2 separate regions of the Homo sapiens genome follow, and region 2 is linked to region 1. The links are contacts of gene promoters, found by promoter capture Hi-C in human tissues and cell types (Jung and others, 2019). All regions are on one chromosome and are shown on one strand. The core of a region is centred on a gene start or on the middle of the fragment in contact, and the rest is flanking DNA. Distances in the headings are between cores, read along the strand shown. Region 1 holds the start of MYL10 (myosin light chain 10). Region 2 overlaps LOC107986832 (a long non-coding RNA gene).

What was found. Contacts are between HindIII fragments. The study calls those that stand out against the background at their distance.
Region 2: a contact is called between a fragment that was not itself captured here and the fragment with the promoter of MYL10 in region 1, in 2 of the 25 tissues and cell types used here (spleen and thymus).

The regions. Positions count from the first base shown.
Region 1 is chr7:101,624,673-101,631,234 of GRCh38, forward strand. MYL10 (myosin light chain 10) reads right to left here and starts at 4,624. Exons shown (of 8, transcript NM_138403.5): 1 at 4,369-4,624. The coding sequence starts at 4,446. RefSeq lists an enhancer at 1-167. The HindIII fragment of the contact is 21,528 bases long and covers 1-5,999 here.
Region 2 is chr7:101,589,086-101,595,652 of GRCh38, forward strand. LOC107986832 (a long non-coding RNA gene) reads left to right here. Exons shown (of 3, transcript XR_001745314.2): 3 at 2,182-2,690. Among named protein-coding and RNA genes, the nearest start is that of LINC01007, 23 kb to the left of the region's middle. The HindIII fragment of the contact is 9,953 bases long and covers 1-6,567 here.

The DNA.
Region 1 (6,562 bases), core at 3,374-5,873:
CTGCGCTCTTAGCCCCACCACAGGATCTGCCTCTTGCCCTGTCCCAGAGCTGCTACTCCCTCTCACCCAGGCCCTCTACTCTGTCCCAGAGCTGCCTTCCCTCCCAGCGTTTGCCCCTGCCTGGAATGCGTTGCTCTGTTGGAATTCCCTGCTTGGAATGCCTTCCCTGGAGAATCTATCTAGAGACTCCTACCCATCCTGCAGGCTCAGCTCCCTGTCACCTCCTCCGAGAAGCCTTCCCTGACCCCAGGCCACTCTCCCCTCCCCACATGGCTCCACTGTGGACTGTCACCCCTACAGCATGTATCACACTGTCCTGACATATCTGTGCGTCTGTGTCCTCGACTAAGTGGACATCTCAGGGGTAAAACCCACTTTGCCCCATCTCTGATCTCTCCTATCCCCACCCTGAACCTGGCTCAAAGTGGGGATCAGCCAGTGCTTGGAAATAGCTGCCCAGAACTCAGGGCCAACCCACGCAGCAGGCAAAGCAGGAGGCCACCCACGTTGAGTAGTCAGATGGTTTCTGGCCAGCCTTCCTGCCTCTGTGATGTCAGGGTGTCTGGAAGTCCACCATTGGGCATTTGCTGAAAGCCCTAGGTCCCCAAGACCCTCAAGAGTCCTGTTCCTGGGCAGCCATCCTTACAGCCCCCAGGGGCGCTGTGAGCCCCAGAATGGGCTCTCGATGGGGGAAAAGAATTGCTGGATTCCAGACGGGGAGGTGGACGGGATGGCACAGAAATGGGTTCCCACCACCAGCTCCTGTCTCCGTCACAACTTGTACCACCCTCTCCTGCCAAGCCCTTGTCTACCTGCCCCCACCAGAGCAGAGGAGTCCCCTCATCCCCTGCTCCCCTCCCCCAACGCCTGTGTGGTCTCCCCTGCCCCCAGCTCACTGCTGTCCCCACCCCCGCCCAGGAGCCCGCGTCGTCGAGGGCAGGGGCAGAAGCGCCGGCTGACTTATAATTAGCTTTTACTGGGTGCTCTGTCTCTCCTAATCCTTTGAAAGGGGGCTGCCAGGGCGGCCGGGACGTTATGATGCTGTAAAACCTCTGTAATATTTATAAATCCTTTCAGACATCATAAAGAAAAGAACTTCCCCACAGAGTTCATCCCACATAATTACATATACATTTCCTCCGATTAATAAAAAATGATCACTTCCGTCTGTGGGAGGTTCTGCCCTTTCTCTGGCACACCTGGCTGTGGCCTCGGCGTCCTCAGTCCCTGCCCCCCACGCCCCCAGCCTCTCATGATCCCCCTGGTTACACCCCCACCCTACACTGTCCCAGAGCTCCACGAGGGAGGGAGAGATCATTTTCTTTACAGCACAAGAGTCCTAAACCCTAGGGTCTTTGCAGCCCAGCTGTCTTGAAAATTCCTTTTGAGAATGGGCCCCTGAAAAATAAAATTCCCCTGAAAGGAACATCTCAGGGAAGAAGGGGGGGTCACCCGGATCTGGGTTCAAAGCCTGGCTTGGCTGCTCCCAGCCTCCGTGATGTTAAGAAATTCACTTGTCTTCTCTGAGCCTGTTTCCCCATTTATAAAACCTAGAGCAGGTCAACCTCAAAGCATCAGGACATGTATTAGACACCTACGGACCTCCAGGCAGGTCCGTCCTGGGGACCCAGGGCTGAATCAGGCCCCGTCTTGGTCCCCAAGAAGATCACAGTCCCGCTGGTGACAGGCAGTCCATAGAGGCTGACTCGGAGGAGGGACAAGCGCTGAGAAGACAAGACAGAGAAGCCCCTAGGCCCTCGGGCAGTCAGGAGGTGACAAGCCGAGGCTGACAGCCAAGTCAGAGCTCTGTGCCGAGAGGGACTAACTAATGAGGCAGGTGAGACACAGGCACAGAGGGACAGCCAGATTGATACCCCGCAGGGAGTCCCCAGGGGCAGGAACCCAGAGCAAGCCCTGCGTCACATGAGGTGCACAGGCAAAGGTGAACAGGGGGACCTCGGAGCTCCAGAGGTGCCACGCTGCCCCAAATACTGACCCCCGGCCCTCCCAGGGGGCCCCTGCCCTCAGAGCCACTGCCCCTGTGAAGCCCCCAGGCCCTGCCCACCTCGTCTCTCTCCACCCTCCTCTTCCTCATTCCCCAGCAGTCCCCACAAAGTCCAGGAAAGCAGAGGCTCAAATCAGGACCCACGTGGAGAGGAGTCCCGAGTGGGGCAGGTCCAAGCATGGGATCAAGAGCAAAGAGCAGGTCAGACCAGGGACAACATCAGATTAAGGTCAGGAAGGTCAGTGAGAGGCAGGATGAATTCAGGCAGGAGGTGAAGGTCAGAATCACACACAGAGTCAAGGTCACAGAACAAGGTCAAAGTTGAGAAATGAGGCCGGGCGCTGTGGCTCACGCCTGTAATCCCAGCACTCTGGGAGGCCGAAGCGGGTGAATCACTTGAGGTCAGGAGTTCGAGACCAACCTGGACAACATGGTGAAACCCCGTCTCTACCAAAAATACAAAAAAAAAAAAATAGCCATGTGTGGTGGCGGGCGCCTGTAATCCCAGTTACTCGGGAGGCTGAGACAGGAACCTCACTCGAAGCCAGGAGGTGGAGGTTGCAGTGAGCCGAGATCGAGCCACCGCACTCCAACCTGGGCAACAGAGTGAGATTCTGTCTAAAAAAGAAAAGGAATTGCGGAGTGAGGTCAGGGGCAGGGGCAGGGGCAGGGGCAGGGGTGGGAGGGAGGGGACCGCAGTGCTGAAGCCAAAGACACAACAGCCACAGGCCTGAGCTCCCCAGGGAGGAGGTGGAGGTGAGAGGAAGGTAGCCGTGGCAGAGCAGAACAACCCCAGCCTACCATGGTCTGGAGAGCTCCCTGAAGCTGCAGTTGGCCTGGGGATAGCTCAGAGATGGCCCTTAAATAGTGGTCCTCCCAGGGCCCCTGGCATGCACCGGGCCCAGTGTGGAAGGTGATCCATGACAGGACGGAGACCTCCCTGCCAGGCACCTGCCTTGGGCCATTCAGAGTGGATAGGGTTGGGGGGAATCCGTGGGCAAATACCACGGACGCAGGGACTGCCTAAGCCTCCAGGATCTCCGAGAGCCCTGGGCCAACTGTTTTCTCTAGAGCCAAGGGACCAAGACCCAGGAAGGGGCATTTGGCCAAGGACACAGAGTAAGTTGAGGCTGCCTACCCCAATGGGAAGACTTGGCCTTGAGCCGTCAGGGAGTGTTGCCCAGGGTGGGGCCACCCATGCTGGCTGGGACCCACTCAGACTGCAGTGTGGCCGGACCTCTGGAGCTGTGGGACTCTGGGTGGGACATCACCCTCTAGGAGGCTCAGCCATCTCATAGGAATAGGGGGGAGTGTATGAAACCCCCGGTCTGCTTATGGAGAGAGTTTCTGCACCAACCTGGCCCTCGGGGGCCCCTTCTACCAATATGCCTATTATCAGGGTGTCCATTAAGCACCCCCAGGCCAGGGGACCCCCTCAGGGCACTGAAATGCTCAATGAACAGAGAAAGCAACAGGACAAATAAAAGAAAAATGGGGTGGGCGCAGTGGCTCACGCCTGTAATCCCAGAGCTTTCGGAGGCCAAGAGGGAAGGATCGCTTCAGGCCAGGAGTTCAAGACCAGCCTGGGCAACATAGTGAGACCCCTATCTCTACAAAATATCAAAAAAATTAGCCGAGCATGGTGGTGTGCTCTTGTAGTCCCACCTACTCAGGAGGCTGAGGCAGGAGGATTGCTTGAGTCCAGGAGTTTGAGGCTGCAGTGATCTATGATTGTGCCACTGCACTCCAGCCTGGGCGACAGAGTGAGATATTGTCTCTTAAAAAAAAGAAAACAGAAAACTGGAGGTGACTCTGATGAGGAAGAACTGAAAAATGAGACCTCCATTCCACCCTGGCCTCACACACACACATCCATCCCCACCAGGCCTGGCCCAGCCCAAGAATTCTCTAGTAGATCTGCCAAACAGAGCCCACACCTGCCCTGGAAAGCCCCTCCTGTGTCTAGTGCAGCCCCAGCAGCCCCAGCTCGGCCTCAGAGGCTGCCACTGTCCATCTGGGGCCCGCCATATCTGAACAGCTGCCAGGGCCGGCAGTGCTGGGTTCAGGCAGTGAGCCCACGGGTCCCCAGGGGCTGGAGAGCTTAACTGTCCCTGGAGCTGGCCTCAGGCCTTCAGCCCCGGGTACAGCTGATCCCCTGCCTTTGGGGAAGGGAATATCATAATAATAATAAGAAGAGCAGCTAATATACAACACAGAAGGTCAGGCCATGTCTTAAAACACGTGTCCTCACATTCAATCCATATCCCATTTTCCAGATGAGGAAACTGAGGCACGCATGGGTTAAGTCACTCACCCAAGGCAGATAAGAAGTGGGGCCAGAGGCCAGGCACAGTGGCTCATACCTGTAATCCCAGCACTTTGGGAGGCCGAGGAGGGAGGATCACTTGAGGCCAGGAGTTTGAGACCAGCCTAAGCAACATGGTGAAACTCTGTTTCTACAAAAAAATTTTTTTTAATTAAAAAATTAGTCAGGCATAGTGGTGAAGTGAAAAAGTTCCCTTATCCCGTTCATAGGGCATGCGATGGGGGTGTGGCTCGCTTCTTCCATGCCCAGCTGCTCAAACCTCTAGGCGGACCATGCAGACAGGCAGGCTATGGGGCTCCGACCCCACGGCAGTGTCTAGGGGTGGATGCTTACAGCTCCTGAAGCCCCAGTGGGCGTGTGTTACAGGATGCTCTTTTACTTTTGCCATCTGTAGGTGGCTTGTGTTCATCAGCTCAGTTAGACCCTCTGCCTTATTGCAAGGACAAAGGGCTTTTTGTATCCTGGGGTTCTTGCCTTGGTGTACTGTGAAAATTGAATCACATGTGGGCTTGGAGAATGAGTGCGAGGTTTTATTGAGTGGTGGAAGTAGCTCTCAGCAGATGATGGGGAGCCAGAAGGGGGATGGAGTGGGAAGGTGATTTTTCCCCTGAAGTCAAGGTGCTCAGCAGCCAGACTCTCCTCTGACCATCCCCAGCCAAATTCCCCTGGGCATTTGTGTTATTCAGCCAGTCGATGGCCTGCCAGCATCTGCCAGTGCTGTCGGTGTGCTCTTCCGATCCTCTGCTCCTCTTGATGTCCAGCCACCTGTGTGTGTACCCACTGGGGTCTCAGGGTTTTCATAGGCACAGGATGGGCGGGGGGGCGGGGGGCGTGGTGGGCCAGGGTGGTCTTGGAAAATGTGACATTTGGGCATATAAACAGGAGTGCCTGTCCTCACCTAGGTCCGTGGGCACAGGCCCAAGGGTGGAGCCCTTGCCAGGGACCCTGCCTTTCTCCTCTCAGCACTTCCCTGTCCCCCCTCCTGTATCAGTGGCACATGCCTGCAGGCCCAGCTACTTAGGAGGCTGAGGTGGGAGGATCACATGAGCCCAGGAGGTTGAGGCTTCAATGAGCTGTGATTGCACCACTGCACTCCAGCCTGGACAACAGATCAAGGTCTCATTTCTAAAACAAAAAAAAAAAAAAAAAAAAAGAGAGAGAGAGAGGGAGGGCCAGGACAAGAGCCCCTCTTTCTAGTGTTTCCAGAAGGAAGCTTCCAAAAGGTTCTGCTCATCCAAACTCTCCCCTCCTCCTGCTCCCTCCCAGTCATCCCTGACTACAGCTATTTCTGATGTCCCTAAACTCCTGTGACTGAGTGCTCCTCCCAGAGCTGGGGCCAGGTCCAGCCATGATGCTGTGCAGCCCGCTTTCTGCAGCAGGAAACCGTGTGCCTCAGTTTCCCCGACAGGGCTGCTCTCCTGGTGTCCTGGCGTTCCTCTCCGGGGAGAAAAACCACACGTTCCACAGGTGTTCAACAAGCCAGGCGGAAAGGAGAACCCAGCTCTGGGGACGGGAGCCTGGATTCCAGTCCCAGCCGCCTGGACCTGCTACAGAAGGGGGCCTGTGTGACCGCGACAGTGGCTAGGGTGCAGGCTTTCCATGCCCGGTCTGTGAGCCTGGCCCTGGGGCCTCCTGGCTCTGGGCTTACAGAGTGGGTAGCAGACCTATAACTCCTGCTTCCTGCCTCTGGCTTCCTGCTGCCCTGAGGCCTCTGCAAGCAAGGGCTCTTGCCTCCGGGGAGCACGCCCAGGACCGTGGCAGGGGCTCCCAAAGGCCGGGGACAGGCCTGAGCAAGCGGAGAGCCCCCCCGCCTGCCCGGAGGAGGGGAAGCGGCGCTGGTGAATCACACCGGGCTTACAAATTAGTCTGAGTGGATTTCCTCCCCTGGCCTCCTCCTTCATAGGACCGGAGGCAGGAAGAACCGGTGAGAAATCTGGTAGAGACGTGAAAACCCCGGGGTGAGATGGTTGGGAGATGTTTGTTCCTGGGGGGCGGGAAGTGTGAGGGTGCAGTGGCCTTGAGAAGGGGGAGCCGTGAGTTCTGCACCCACAGTGGGACCCTCAGTTTTCCCCATCTGAGAAATGGTGCCAGCAGCCAGGACCCCTTGAGGCTGCCATCGGGAAGCTTAGTGCCATTGGAAGGAGGTGGGCTTTGGGGTCATCGGCCTGGGGTTTGGAGGGCAGAGCCTTCCCCTGTCCCCCTTTCCCCCTGTGTAGATGGAGTCCTTGACA
Region 2 (6,567 bases), core at 1,020-3,519, 38 kb before region 1:
CCAGCTGGAACACTCCACACACTGTCTTGGAGTTGGGGGGCCTTCCCTGCACCCGGCGTCCTGGTGTGCCTCCCTGGAGAGAGAGCATGGGCTGGGCACGAGATATGGGGTGGGCTTAGATACGACCCAGACCTGAGATGCTCCCAGACAGGAGCAGGGGACCAGGCCCAGCAGGGGGCAATGACAATCTCTGGAGGGACAGTCCAGGGCCGAGGGAACCCAGAGAAGGCCTCTAAGTGTCTCAGACACAGGAGGAGGAACAATTGGAGAGGAGACCAAATGGGTGGGCTGGGGATGTATTAAGACTGTCTTTTTTTTTTTTTTTTTTTTTTTTTTGAGACAGGGCCTCTTTCTGTCACCCAGGCTGGAGTGCAGTAGCACGATCTCAGCTCACTGCAACCTCTGACTCCTGGGTTCAAGCAATTCTCCTGCCTCAGCCTGAGACTGTCTAGAATGTACAGCTAATGAATCTCTATTTTTCTCTTGTACTTTTCTCCCTTACTATCTGAGGATGGGGGCACAATGGCAAAAGCCCTGGGCACAGAAAATCAATCCAGCTTTTCTCTTACAGTGAGGCCAATCCCATACTTTGTAGGGTTTTTCATTTTTTTTTTTCTTTTTGAGATGGACTCTCGCTCTGTCACCCAGGTTGGAGTGCAGTGGCACGATCTCGGCTCACTGCAACCTCTGCCTCCTGGGTTCCAGCTGTTCTCCTGCTTCAGCCTCCTGAGTAGCTGAGATTACAGGCATGCGCCACCACGCCCTGCTAATTTTTGCATTTTTAGTAGAAATGGGATTTCACCATGTTGGCCAGGCTGGTGTCAAACTTCTGGCCTCAAGGGATCAGCCCGCCTCAGCCTCCCAAAGTGCTGGGATTGCAGGCGTGAGCCACCATGCCCAGCCCCAATCCCATCCTTTGAACCTCAATGCCCTCATCTGTAAAATGGAGATCATAATGAGCCCTACTTCCCCCAGGGGAGCTATGGACAGGTTCACGCTCTCCGGGGCCTCTCTCACACTGGCCTTCCCCTTGCCGGCCTCCCCTGGGTCTATCTGCTGTGGGGGCTGCAGTCACTCATGGGCAGGAGAGGTGAGGAAATGCAGTTGCACAGGCCTAGACCCAGCTGATGCCCTGTGTGTCCAAAGCCCAGTGGGGCCTGGGCTTCTGGTGGCCAGGACGCCCCTATGTCCAACCCAGGGTGGAGAAAGAGGCCAGGAGGACATGGTACTCTGAAGGCCTTTTGTGTGGCATCCTCAAGGAACCAGATCCAGGGCTCCTCCTGCACCCTGAGCCCCACCACGGGACCAGAGCAGCACCCAGCCTGCCGCCAGCCACCCCCGCGGTGGCCTGGTGCCAGCCCTGCAGGCGGGCAGTGAGATAATCCGGCTAGACGGGCTGCCATCTTGGCACGTCCCAAGACGCCCGAGGCCACGGGGAGCTTCAAAAGGAAAATTAATGTCTCTTACCAGCAATTAGAGGAAATTATTCAGATAGAAATCTTGTTTTCTATCTCCTCATCCTTGTTTTTGAATCCCCAGCCTTTGATTTCTTTCTTCTCTGGGGATTCTCAGAAAGACACTCTGAGAGCCTGGGCTGTGCACTGAGGCCTAATGAGGGCCTGGCACACCTGGCATCACAGCCTCGCCCGGGGTAGTCGGCTTCTGAGGCCTGTGCCTCCTGAACCCAGCCCTGAGGTCTTCCAAAGAGGCTGGCGGGCCCTTGGCAGCTGAGGGCAGCTCTCCCGAGGTGGGTGGGCCTCTGCTGGGGCTGGCTCCCCCTGATGCCCAAGGGAGGTGGCACCGGGCTACAGGCGGACGTCATGCACCTGGGGTGAAGGGGTGCTGAGGGCACTCTTGGGTGGAGGAGAGGCCCAAGGGGTGGACTCAGTGGGAACTGACACCCTTCCTGTCTCAGCGGGGACCCCTCATGCTCTCCGCCCGTCAGTCTTTCCCCACTGCCTCAGATGCAGCCTCAACTTCCCAATCTGGCGCTCAAAGCCCTGCAGATCTATCCTCGTCAGCTTCCCTGGCCCTTCCCCCCATCCCCTCCTCTAAATGTCCCCCGCTCCACTTGCCCAGGGTGCTGGGCTTATTCCAGACAGGAGCTCAGCCGCCATGACCCACGGTGGCACACACCCTGACCTGACGTAAATGACCTTCTTCTCTTTTTCTATCTGGCAGACTCCTGCACCTCCTCAGGTGGCCCAGCCCTGCCTCACCTTCTCAGGGATGCTGGCTTGGACCCCACCCAAGAGAACAGTTGGCATCTCCATCACCTAGCCCAGGCCACTGTCCTGAGCTAATCAGGAGCTACTCATGGGCTCTCTTCCCTAGAAACTCCTCGAAGCCAGGGAGAAGGGCGGCTTCATCTCCAGGTTCCCAGCACCAGGTGGCCCAGAATGGGCTTTAATAAGCTCCTGCTTGAATGAGTGACACCCAATGATAATGATGGTTTGAATAAATAAAAGAATGAAAGAATGAATGGGACTGATTAGAAGAGGCACCAGGAACAAGGTGTCAAGAGACTAATCTTGAATCATGATTCAGTCACTTCCTCCCTGTGTGACATGGAGCAAGTTGCTTTACCTCTCTGGGCTTCATTTTTCAGTTCTGTAGAATGGGATTAATAGTTTTAGCCCTGCCTTCAAAACAGTTGTGTGGCTAAAACAAAATAAAGGTGTTGCCAGGCATGGTGGCTCACATCTGTAATCCCAGCACTTTGGGATGACGAGGTGGGTGGATCATTTGAGGTCAGAAGTTCGAGACCAGCCTGGCCAACATGGTGAAACCCTGTCTCTACTAAAAATACAAAAATTATCTGGGCATGGTGGCGGGCGCCTGTAATCCCAGCTACTCAGGAGGCTGAGGCAGGAGAATTGTTGAGCCCAGGAGGTGGAGGTTGCAGTGAGCTGAGATGGCACTACTGTATTCCAGCCTGGGTGACAGAAGGAGACTTAATCTCTAAATAAATAAAGAAATAAATAAAGGGGTTGAGCATGCAATTATATTAAAATTACATGTACCACTCATCCCTCCCTCCATCCATCCATCCATCTACTCATTCATCCAATTATCAATTCATCCATCCATCCACTCATCCATCCACCCGTCTATTCATCTATTCACCCATCCACCATCCATCCACTCATTCATCCATCCACGCACTCACACAGTCATTCACCCCCTCACCCATCTAGGTATCCATCCAATTATCCACCCATCCATCCATTCATCCATCCATTCACTCATTTATTTATCCATCCAATTATCCACCCATCCATCCATTCACTCATCTATTTATCCATCCAGTTATCCACACATCCATCCATTCATCCACCCATTTATTTATCCATCCAATTATCTATCCATCCATCATCCATCCATCCATCCATCCATCCATCCATCCATCCATCCTCTTGTCCATTCCTTTAACAACCACTCACTGAGACCTCCTGCATGCCAGGCCTGTGTTGAGGAATGGGGGACAGTGTGGGGTCAGAAGAAGTACCTGCCCAGGGAGAGGTCATCAGTGGCAGCAGAGAAGCCCAGACAGGAGCTAAAGGAAGGAGGCTGAGCATGCCATCTCAAGAGTGCAGCCCAGGCTGGGTGTGGTGGCTCACACCTGTAATCCCACCACTGTGGGAGGCTAAGGCAGGCAAATCGCTTGAGCCCAGGAGTTCGAGACCAGCCTAGGCAACGTGGTGAAACTGTCTTTAGAAAATATTAGCCAAGGCCGGGCACGGTGGCTCATGCCTGTAATCCCAGCACTTTGGGAGGCCGAGGTGGGCGGATCACCTGAGGTCAGGAGTTCGAGACCAGCCTGGCCAAAATGGTGAAACCCCGTCTCTACTAAAAATACGAAAATTAGATGAGTGTGGTGTCGTGCACTTGTAATCCCAGCTACTTGGGAGGCTGAGGCAGGAGAATCGCTTGAACCTGGGAGGTGGAGGTTGCAATGAGCCAAGATTATACCACTGCACTCCAGCCTGGGTGACAGCGCAAGACTCCGTCTCAAAAAAAAAACAAAACAAAACAACAACAACAAAAAAAAAAACAAAAAGAAAAGAAAAGAAAGAAAGGAAAAGAAAAAATTAGGCAAGCGTGATGGCGCATGTCTGTAGTCCCAGCTACTCGGGAGGCTGAGGCAGGAGGATCACTTGACCCCGGGAAGCAGAAGCTGAAGTGAGCCCAGATCACACCACTGCACTCCAGTCTGGGTAATAGAGTGAGACCCTGTCTCAAAAACAAAACAAAACCAAAAAAGAGTACTACCCAAATCTCTGCTTCCCACCGCCTCAAATGCACCTGCTCTTGTCATGCTCAGCCGGCTTCAGAAACCCTAGGAGGCCAGGAACACTTCTGCCAGGGGTCCAGTTGGGAGGACACCTGGAGAACCTGGAGGTGGAGGTAAAGAGGAAGGGAAAACCAGACACAGAGAGGTGAAGAAATATGCCCCCAACTACTGTTGAATTGGGATGTGAGTCCTGAGCCACATTCTTAACCAGGTCCACATCCTGGATCAAATGGGCCCTCAAGTCCAGTGCTTGGAAAGCCTCCAATAAGTGGCTGGCCAGCATCTGTTACATACTTCCCCTGACGAGACACTCACTACCTTTCCAGGCTAGTGAGGCTCATCTGTGTACGGCTCTGACTGTGAAAAGCTCTTTCTTGGATAGAGGATCCACATTGGCCCTGGCTCGGCGCACTGGACCCTGTATTCCTGCTGGCCTGGAATGTCCGTGCAGAAACTTGAAGACAGTGGTGTGTCTCTGAGCCTTCTCTTTCCCAACATGGGTACTCTTCCCTGCTCCCCCCAAGTCCTTTCACCTCCCAGCTGTCCGTCTGGCACAGAAGATCAAGTGCATTGTTGAGACCACAAGGGAGGGGAGGCAGCTTAGGAGATCAGGAAAAAAACTTATGACACTAATTTAGGGTCTTAGCCTCACTCTTGGCCTTATCCTGTGTTTTCTAGACATTAACTTTCGTCAGCCCCCAAATCTTGATTTAATCATTCCATCTTAATGTATTGTCTTCATTGCTATAAAATGCCTTGATTCCTTTTGGGGAGTAGAGATAAGTAATAAATAAAGGTACCAGTTAACCCCCCCTAAGTTTTGGGGGATGATCACATCTGGGTCCTTTCTCTCTTGCCTGCTTCAAGAAACAATTGTTAATTCTTTTAGTAAGTTTCAGGCCAGTTGATGTAATGACAATATCTTGAAATCAACCATCGTGGCCAGGCATGATGGCTCATGCCTGTAATCCCAGCACTTTGGGAGGCTGAGGTGGGTGGATCACATGAGGCCAGGAGTTCGAGACCAGCCTGGCCAACATGGCAAAACCCTATCTCTACTAAAAATACGAAAAATTAGCTGGGTGTCATGGTGCGCACCTGTAATCCCAGCTACTCGGGAGGCTGAGGCAGGAGAATCACTTGAACCCGGAATCTGGGAGGCGGAGGTTGCAGTGAGCTGAGATCACACCACTGCACTCCAACCTGGGTGACAGAATGAGACTCTGTCTCAAAAAAAAAAAAAAATCAACCACAGTGAGGGTCTTTACACCATGAGAATTGGCAAACGCTACCAGTCAGGGCTTTCCCCACTACATTTTCCAGCACACAACTGAATATGCCTCTCATCTTTCTTCTCCCCATAGAGCAGTCAAGTGAGGAGGACTGCCTGATCCTAGAGACTCTGATCCTCCCAAGACGCAGACCAGGGCTCTATTCTCACAGGACTTTCCCCTCAAGTGACTCTCCTCTGTGCACACATGCTGTCTTACTCTGTATTCTTTTAGGAGCCACAGGGCTTCAAGCATGCACCCATTCATTCAACATATGTTCAACACCACTATCTGGCAGGCCCCAGGCTGGGGACTTGTGACTGGGGACTTACAGATTGGACAGAGCTGCCTTCTCTACCAGTGCCTTGAGGGGACTCACTCTATGTCATGTGCATGATTCATGCTATCTCATTTAACCCTCACAACATCCGGGCCCATTTTATAGATGAGAAAACTGCAGAGCCTGGAGTGCCAAGTGGGTGATTTCTATCTGTTCCACTCCGAAGACCCAGGCTTACCACTCCAAAATGACAGTGGTGGTGATTTTTTCTTTTCTTGTTCGGTCTTCACTATGGCTCTGAGAGGAAGCTGTTCATTGCTCTATTTGCCAAGGGGGAAAACCTGAAGCTCAGGGATGTTGACCGGTCCAACTTGCAAGCTTAATGAAAATGCAGGACTCTGTCTCCTAAGCCAGGTGGTGGTGCAAAATGAGCCCCACTCCTGGGGTGGAACCTTGAGTTGGGAGCCCTGAGTTCTTGGCTCAGCTCCACTGGGGATGTCAAGGGTGACCTTGGGCAAGTCACTTCTCATGATCTAAGCCATTCTGTGCCCCTCAGCCCTGATTGCTCTGAGCCCCAGACCCTGCCATCCCCTGTCACTTGAGCTTCATCATAAGATGTTCCATGAGCATTGCCACTTATTGCAACACAGATGGAACTCTCTAAGCCTCTGTTTCCTCATGTGTAAAAACTGGATAACAGTAGTTTCTACTTTACAGAATAT